Regions from separate parts of the Homo sapiens genome. Here region 1 is linked to region 2. Evidence: promoter capture Hi-C in human tissues and cell types (Jung and others, 2019). All regions are on one chromosome and are shown on one strand. Each heading gives the region's core, a stretch centred on a gene start or on the middle of the fragment in contact. The rest is flanking DNA. Distances are from core to core; before and after follow the strand shown. Region 1 holds the start of MOSPD3 (motile sperm domain containing 3). Region 2 holds the start of ZNF394 (zinc finger protein 394).

Evidence for each region. Contacts are between HindIII fragments. The study calls those that stand out against the background at their distance.
Region 1: a contact is called between the fragment with the promoter of MOSPD3 here and the fragment with the promoter of ZNF394 in region 2, in 1 of the 25 tissues and cell types used here (aorta).

Annotation. Positions count from the first base shown.
Region 1 is chr7:100,610,203-100,614,494 of GRCh38, forward strand. MOSPD3 (motile sperm domain containing 3) reads left to right here and starts at 2,338. Exons shown (of 5, transcript NM_023948.5): 1 at 2,338-2,794; 2 at 2,992-3,067; 3 at 3,275-3,504. The coding sequence starts at 2,590. RefSeq lists an enhancer at 1,931-2,200 and a silencer at 2,321-2,380. The HindIII fragment of the contact is 8,229 bases long and covers 1-4,292 here.
Region 2 is chr7:99,497,884-99,502,287 of GRCh38, forward strand. It overlaps ZNF394 (zinc finger protein 394), which reads right to left and starts at 2,398. Exons shown (of 3, transcript NM_032164.4): 1 at 1,755-2,398; 2 at 833-959. The coding sequence starts at 2,210. RefSeq lists enhancers at 838-1,506, 1,729-2,008. The HindIII fragment of the contact is 27,367 bases long and covers 1-4,404 here.

The DNA.
Region 1 (4,292 bases), core at 1,088-3,587, 1.1 Mb after region 2:
CAAATGGTAGGCACTGTCATAAGTCCTAAAGATACAACAGAAAACTAAACAAAGTCCCTGCTCTTGTGAAAAGGAAAAAACATTCTACTGGAGGAGAGAGAAACAATAAAATAGGAGGTCATGTATCACTATAAGTGCTATTAAAAAAACAAATACAGGGCAGGGAGCGGTGGCTCACGCCTGTAATCCCAGCACTTTGGGAGGCTGAGGCGGGCGGATCACAAGGTCAGGAGATCCAGACCATCCTGGCTAACATGGTGAAACATCATCTCTACTAAAAATACAAAAAATTAGCCGGGTTTGGTGGTGGGTGCCTGTAGTCCCAGCTACTCGGGAGGCTGAGGCAGGAGAATGGTGTGAACCCGGGAGGTGGAGCTTGCAGTGAGCTGAGATCGCGCCACTGCAGTCCGAGATTGCGCCACTGCAGTCTGGCCTGGGTGAAAGAGCGAGACTCCATCTCAAAAAATAAACCAAACCAAACAAAACAAAAAAAACAAATACAATTAGCCGGGTGTGAAGTCGCGCGCCTGTAGTCCCAGCTACTCAGAAGGCTGAGGTGGGAGGATTGGTTGAGCGCAACCAAGCAGGTGGAGACTGCAGTGAGCTATGATTGTACCACTGCCCTCCAGCCTGTGTGACAGCACAAGACTGTCTCAAAAAAAAAAAAAAAAAAAAAGAAAAAGAAAAAGAAAATGTAAAAGAGAACACGGGGATTCTACACAAGATGTTCAGAGGAGACTTTCAGATAAGATCAACTTTGTCTTTGCTCCATTGCTAACTGGGTGCCCTCAGAGACCCAGATTCTTCACCTTATCCAGGCTGTAAAAGGAGTTGAAGATTCGATGCAATTAAAGTGGCAGGGTTTAGCAAATCCTTTTTTAAAATATATAATTACTCAAACAACATGGGTTTGAAATCAGCAAATCTTAATTCCCTGTGCAAATGTGAGTGATTTCCCACGTCCCTCACAGGAAGGTGAGAAACAGGAGGCAAGACTTAGTCTGGAGTCCCAGATGGGAGGAACCTCCAACCCATAGAAAACAGACTTTGAGCCTGGGGAAGGAACAGTGGCTCTCATGCACTTTGGGAGGCTTAAGTGGGAGGATCGCTTGGGCCCAGGAGTTCGAGAACAGCCTGCAGAACATAGCGAGATCGTCTCTACAAAAAATTACAAAAAGCCAGGCATGGTGATGCACGCCTGTAATCCCAGCTACTCGGGAGGCTGAGGCAGGAGAATCGCTTGAACCCAGGAGTTGGAGGCTGCAGTGAGCAATGATAGCGCCACTGCACTCCAGCCTGGGCGACAGAGTGAGACTCTGTCTCTAAAAAAGCAAAAAAGAGGGCGGGCACGGTGGCTCACGCCTGTAATTACAGGACTTTGGGAGGCTGAGGCAAGTGGATCGCCTGAGGTCAGGAGTTCGAGACCAGCCTGACCAACATGGTGAAACCCCGTCTCTACTAAAAATACAAAGAATTACCCGGGCGTGATGGCGCACGCCTATAATCCCAGCTACTCGGGAGGCTGAGACAGGAGAATCGCTTGAACCCTGGAGGCGGTGGTTGCAGTGAGCCGAGATCGTGCCATTGCACTCCAGCCTGGGTGACAGAGCGAGACTTCGTCTCAAAAAAAAAAAAAAAAAAGCAAAGAAAACAGGCTTGGTTCCTGCAGAGGCTTCTAGAGCCTGGAATGAAGAGGAGGAAAAGGGCTTCCCGGTGGGAGATTGACTTGGACCATCTCAAGAATAGGGAGGAAAGAACAAAGCCCAGTTCGAAACCCCGCCCCCGGTTCTCTGAGTTACTTCAGGGCTCGAGTTCGAGCCAGTACAACTGTTACGTCACCGGAATCCAGCCAATCGCAGACGACAGAAGGAGGGCGTTGTTTGGTCTTTCAGCACACCAATCGGCGTATAGTTACGGCAGAAACAAAGACGTCCTAGCCAATGACAGAGGCCGTACGGCGGAAGTATAGAAAAGGACTCTCTGGAACATGGCAACATTAATCTGACCACAAGCTGACTGGCAGGTGCTTTAACCACAAGGTGGGCATCCTAACGCGAGCGACCGTTTTGAGGCAGAAGCCCGATGGGGCCCGTGTCCGAGCTTAGGGAGGGGCCGGAGACGCAAACACAGGTCTCCCAGGAAGCAGGCGGCGTCACAGGTCGCTCTGCAGGCGCCCGCTGCAGCGGGCGGAGTCTGGCTGGAGAGAGGAGGCGGGCGTCCGGGAACGCCCGGAAGGGGCGAGGCCAGCGGCGGGGCGGGGCTTATGGAGATCGTGAGCTGGGCGTGAGGAGAAGGCCGGGTTGGGAGCTGCGAGGGGCCGGGTTTAGCGGGGTGGGCGTGGCCGTCGAGGTGGGGCTCGGCGGGTCCGAAGGAACCTGGGGCAGAGCTGGAAGAGGAAAGGTCTTGGGGGCCCTGGGCCTGGGTCTGCGGGAGCCCCATCTAGCGGGGTTCCAAGGCGGCGGCGGCATCAGTCGAGGCCCTGCTCCGGGAGCTCATCTTGTCCCCTTTCGCCCCTCACGCCCCCCAGCTCTGACTCCAGGCCCTGTCCCCTGAGCTCTGCCCTCGGATGTCCGACCGCCCAGAGCCTGCATGCGCCGTGGGGCGCCCCAGGACCAGGAGCTGGTGGGTCCGGGGCCCCCTGGGCGGGGGTCCCGGGGCGCCCCTCCTCCCTTGGGACCCGTTGTCCCGGTCCTGGTCTTTCCCCCGGATCTAGTATTCAGGGCGGACCAGCGGAGCGGACCCCGACAGCTGCTGACCCTCTATAACCCCACAGGAACTGCGCTTCGCTTCCGAGGTAAAGGGATCGGCGCCTCGTGGGGGCTGGTGGCCGGACACTGGGGGGTTGTGTTGGCTGGAGGAGTCAGATGGGTAGGGTTGCACGTCCAGCTTTGGTGGACTGGGAAAGTCATGTCCAGCCTCCGGGGCAGAAGGCAGAGGGGACTTAAATGACCCACATGGCAGGGCTTGTCTGTGTGTGTCTCTATCCCCCAGTCCTGTGCACAGCACCTGCCAAATACACGGTGTTTGACGCAGAGGGATATGTGAAGCCCCAGTCTTGCATTGACATGTGAGTGAGCTGGGAGGGTGGGGAGGCTTGTGGAAGCCAGGGGTCGCTGCCACCTGTTGTCTGAGGTCTGAGACCTTGCCCCCTTTAACCTATTTGCCCTATCCTCTGCCTGTGCCCCTAAGGGAGAGACTTCTGGGGGGAGGCCCAGATTTCCTTGGATTACTGCCTCATTCACCCCAATGGGCTTCTCTCCTACCTTGGGACCAGTGTGATTCGCCATGTGGCACCCATTCCCAGCCACTATGATGTCCAGGACCGCTTCCGCATTGAGCTGTCTGAGGAAGGAGCTGAGGGCCGAGTGGTGGGACGCAAGGACATTACCTCCATTCTGAGAGCCCCAGCGTACCCCCTTGAGCTTCAGGGACAGCCAGATCCAGCGCCTCGCCCAGGGCCTCCTGCTGGGACACCACCACCCACGGCCAGACACTTCCAGGAGCGTGAGTTGGGAGACTGGGATCTTGAGTTCTGTAGGGAGGGAGGAACTAGCATTTCCCTAGAGATGAGATAAATTGGATTTGAAGAAGTCTCCTGGTTCAGTCTTTTGTCTTTTGGTGGAAACATTCCTCCGAGTTGAGATTTTATATCAGGTGAGGGGGAAAAGACTTACAGCTTCCCTGGTTTCTGACTTCTACTTAGAGGAAAAAGTTCTTCCTTGACTGTAACCGCAGTACTTCCTATCATGTGGTAGCTCAGTTCAGTTCAATAAGAAACCTGTATTGAGCAATTAACCCTGTACCAAGTTGTGTGCTGGGTATGAGATCAAGAGAGGTCCCTGCCTGTCGGATAGGTCCACAGAAGAGAGAAAATGAATGCTGAGGGACTGGAGGAGAGAGTTCTTGTGGTGGTGGGGACAGAGGCTGTAGGAAGGAGAGGACACTTGCAGTGTACCCCTGGAGGGCAGTAAAAAGTAGATACAGGGTGTGATGGCTCACGCCTATAATCCCAGTGCTTTGGGAGGCTGAGGTGGGCTGATAACCTGAGGCCAGGAGTTCAATACCAGCCTGACCAACATGATGGAACCCCGTCTCTACTAAAAACACACAAAAATTAGCTGGGAGTGGTGGCTCGCACCTGTAATCCCAGCTAGTCGGGAGGCTAAGGCAGGAGAATCACTTGAACCTAGGAGGCAGAGGCTGCAGTGAGTCAGGATTGTGTGGCTGCACTCCAGCCTGGGTGCAACAGAGTGAGACTCCGTCTCAAAAAAAAAAAAAAGTAGATACAGGGT
Region 2 (4,404 bases), core at 1,148-3,647:
ATAAAAAACGAAAAACAAATGCTATACTTAATAAAAGTCATGTGAATGTGGTCTCTCCCTGTCTTAAAATATCTGATTGTACTGTGGGTAAGTGAAACCGCAGAAAGCAAAACCAGGAAGGGGGGACTACTGCCTGTCTCTAGGCATATTCTCTTCAAAAACTCCAACATAGAAACAAATATACAAAGATATGCAAGAATATACAAGAATGTTCGGTGCAATGCTGTAATGGTTAAAAACTTAAGACACCTAAATGTCCATCAACAGAAATGGAGAGAATTCTGGAGTATCTGGACCGTGAAATAGGTAGAGCTCCATGCATCAACATGAGTAAATCTCAAAAATGTAATGTTGAGTAAAAAAAGCCATACAGTAATGATATACAGCGTGGAGCTACGTGTCTATGTAGAGACAATATAAGACATGCATGGAAGTCATGAACACAACAGTCAGCTTACTGGCTACCTCTGGAGAAGGATAGAGGGGAAGGGTTTCAGGGAGGCTATGTGGGGGCCTCACCTACAGCTGTAACATACTATTTCCTTGGCAATATGGCCAAGTATTAAGATCTGATAAACTTGGGTGGTAGACACAGGGGATGGTCATTATCTTTTTTTTATATAGTTTTCTGTATGTATAAAACATTAAAAATGAACCAAAGTAAAAAGCTGAATCTAGCACCTAGCAGTACAGAGGCTCCTGCTTGCGTTACAGAAGGCACCTGAAGGCTCTCAGCCCAAGTCTGGGAATGGCATAGTGGCTCAGGGATGGTAGTGAACCAGCCCTTCACAAACCACACACCGCAATAAACCAGCAGAGCAACAGCACTCACTCGGCGGAACTGTGCTCCCGGAATCCTTCTGCGCACTCTCTCTGCAGAAGTCCCTCCGTGCTGGGTCCAGGCGCTCCCACTCCTCCCAGGTTAGAGACACAGCCGTGTCCTCGAAAGTCACCATCCCCTGGAACAACACAAGAGCCCCATTCAGTACCTGCTGTCCCTGTACAGCACTAACACTCTTCTTGAGTCTTGTACCGACAAGGGAGTTTGGAGAGATCAGAGATAGAGGCTGACATTCTCTTGTAATCCTGAAAAGCCTTTCTGTGGACTATTTACACTAATTTTGGAGGTAGGTAGGAGCAAAATATTTCTTTAACTTATATCACTGTGATGTATGGGAATGGAAATATGATACAGATTAAAAGTAAACAAGGCCGGGCGCGGTGGCTCACGCCTGTAATCCCAGCATTTTGGGAGGCCGAGGCGGGCGGATCACCTGAGGTCAGGAGTTCGAGACCAGCCTGGCCAACACAGTGAAACCCCGTCTCTACTAAAAATACAAAAATTAGCCGGGCGTGGTGGCGGGCGCCTGTAATCCCAGCTACTCGGGAGACTGAGGCAGGAGAATCGCTTGAACCCGGGAGTCAGAGGTTGCAGCGAGCCGAGATCGCGCCATTGCACTCCAGCCTGGGCAACAAGAGTGAAACTCCATCTCAAACAACAGCAAGAACAACAAGAAAAAAAAAAAAAAGAAAAGAAAAAGAAAGAAAACCAGTAATCCGTGTTCGCTTTATGCTGAGGTCTATAACAAGTCATTTCCTGGATGGATCTGTCACTGTGGCCTACAGAAAGGAAGTCCATACACACCCCAATGTTCACACGAAATGTAATAAGGAAGTAAGTTCCGAAACGCAGAGCACCCCTAAACGCCTATTTTCCACACTCCCACCTCCAGAACAGGCCTTTCGCTTCTCACCTGGGATGAGGTTCCATCGAGCGCTCGCTGCAGAGCCCGCACCACGGCCACCGCCTCCTCCCCGCTCTCTGGGCAGTGCTCTCGCACCCAGGCTTGAAGCTCCTCGGGCAGGATGGTGAGGAACTGCTCCAGCACCAGCAGCTCCAGGATCTGCTCCTTGGAGAGCAGCTCGGGTCTCAGCCACCGACGACAGAGTTCTCGGAGCCGGCTCAGCGCCTCTTCCGGTCCAGCCACCTCCTGGTAACGCAGCTGCCTAAAGTGCAGTCGAGAAGTTTCGGGGTCCGGCGAAGCCGCGGGATAGTTGGGCTCCCAACTTCCGGGTGAGTCTTCCTCCACTTTCACGGGCAAAAGTCCGTCGCGTTGGGACGGCGCCGCGTCCTTGGACCTCGCAGCCATCACCCAGGGTCCCAACTCGGCGTCACTGCCGCGCCTCTGGGCGGTCAAGCTGGAATTCATCTTTCTCCGGCATGTGCTGCCCTTCCTGGAGTCTTCTTTTCAGGTGAAGAAAGAGCAAACCCAAGGAACTCATCAGCCGTCAACACCCTCCGGTCCCAAACACCGGGCCCCACCACACCAGGCCCCTCTCCACACTCTCCTTTCCTCAGCTTTGCGCCTACAACTCTCTCGGTCAAACAACCGAAAACATCCCGTGCCGGAAGCGCGTCATCGAGGCCTTGCGGCACCTTTCCCTGCATTTCCGGGGCCTCTCTAGGCGCCTGATGGGGTGAGGTGCATCTCGCTGGTTTATCGTCCTAGCCCCGCCCGACGCAGAGGGTCTTGACGGTTTCCCGCATCCCGAGGAAATACGGGCGTCCGAGCCGGTGGCCGAGCTCCGGCAAGGGCGGGAACCTTCAGGATTAAATAGACAGGGTCTGGCTCTGTCGCCCAGGCTGGACTGCAGTGGCGCGATTTCGGCTCACTGCAACTTCTGTCTCCCGGGTTCAAGCAATTCTCCAGCTTCAGCCTCCCAAGTATCTAGGACTACAGGTGCGCGCGACCACGCCCGGTTTATTAATTTTTCTGTGGGGATGGGGTTTCATTATATTGCCCAGGTTGGACAAAGTTGTTTTTTTTTCTTTTTTCAGGCGGACTCTCGCTCTGTCGCCAGGCTGTCTTAGCCTCCTGAGTAGCTTGGACTACAGGCGCGCGCCACCATGCCCGGCTACTTTCTGTATTTTAGTAGAGATGGGGTTTCACCATGTTGGTCAGGCTGGTCTGGAACTCCTGACCTCGTGATCCGCCTGCCCCGGCCTCCCAAAGTGCTGGATTACAGGCGTGAGCCGCTGCGCCCAGTTGGAAAAAGTTTTGTTTTTTTTTTAAAACTAAGTGCTTCCATGTACATCAGATGTTAACGACTTTGATCCTAACAAACAAACAAAAAAGATGAGGAAATTGAGGCTCAAAGATGTGTCCTGGCCTGGCTCAGTGGCGTATGCCTGTAATCCCAGCATTTTGGGAGGCTGAGGGGGGAAGATCGCTTGAAGCCAAGAATTGGAGACCCCAATGTCTACAAAAAATAAAAAATTAGCTGGGTGTGGTGGTGCACACCTGTAGTCCCAGTGAGAGGTGAAGCTAGTTGGACTTCCTGGGTCCAGTGGGGACTTGGACAACTTTTCTGTCTTACAAGAGGTTTGTAAAAATGCACCAATCAGCGCTCTGTAGCTAGCAAGAGGTTTGTAAAATGCACCAATCAGCGCTCTGTAAAATGGACCAATCAGCAGGATTCTAAAAGCAGCCAATCGCAGGGAGGATGGAAAAAAGGGCGTTCTGATACGACAGAAACGGACATGGGAGGGGACAAATAAGAGACTAAAAGCTCCCACCCCAGTCAGCGGAGGCAACCGGCTGGAGTGCTCTGCCATGCTGTGGAAGGTTTGTTCTTTCGCTCTTCACAATAAATCTTGCTGCTACTCACTCTTTGGGTCCGTGCCATCTTTAAGAGCTGTAACACAGTGAAGGTCGGAGGCTGCATTCTTGAAGTCAGCGAGAGGATGAACCCACTGGAAGGAACCAACTCAGGATACACCACTTACTTGGGAGGCTGAGGTGGGAGGATCCTTTGAGCCCAGGAGGTAAAGACTGCAGTGAGATATGATCGCACCAGTGCACTCCAGCCTGGGTGACAGAGCAAGACTCTGTCTCTAAAACAAAGTGTCTTGGTTGATGTCAAGCTGCTGGTGATTTGCAACTTGCATAAAATGAGACGATCGCTTGAGACCAGGAGTTCCAGGCCAGCCTGAGCAACATAGAGAGGATGTGTCTCCATATAAAAATAAAAAAATTTTTTTTTGAGAGGGAGTATCGCTCGGGTTCAAGCGATTCTCCTATCTCAGCCTCCCAAGTAGCTGGGATTACAGGCGCGTGCCACCACACCCAGCTAATTTTTTGTATTTTTAGTAGAGACGGGGTTTCACCATGTTAGCCAGGATGGTCTTGATTTCCTGACCTCGGCTCACTGCAACCTCTGCCTCCTGGGTTCAAGCAATCCCCCTCCCCACCCCACGCCCAAACAAACCGAACACTATTTATCAATCCAGGTGTGTTTAATAACTAGACATAAAAATATCTCTTATGGAGCCAGGTGCGGTGGCTCACGCCTGTAATCCCAGCACTTTGGGAGGCCGAGGCGAGGGGATCACCTGAGGTCGGG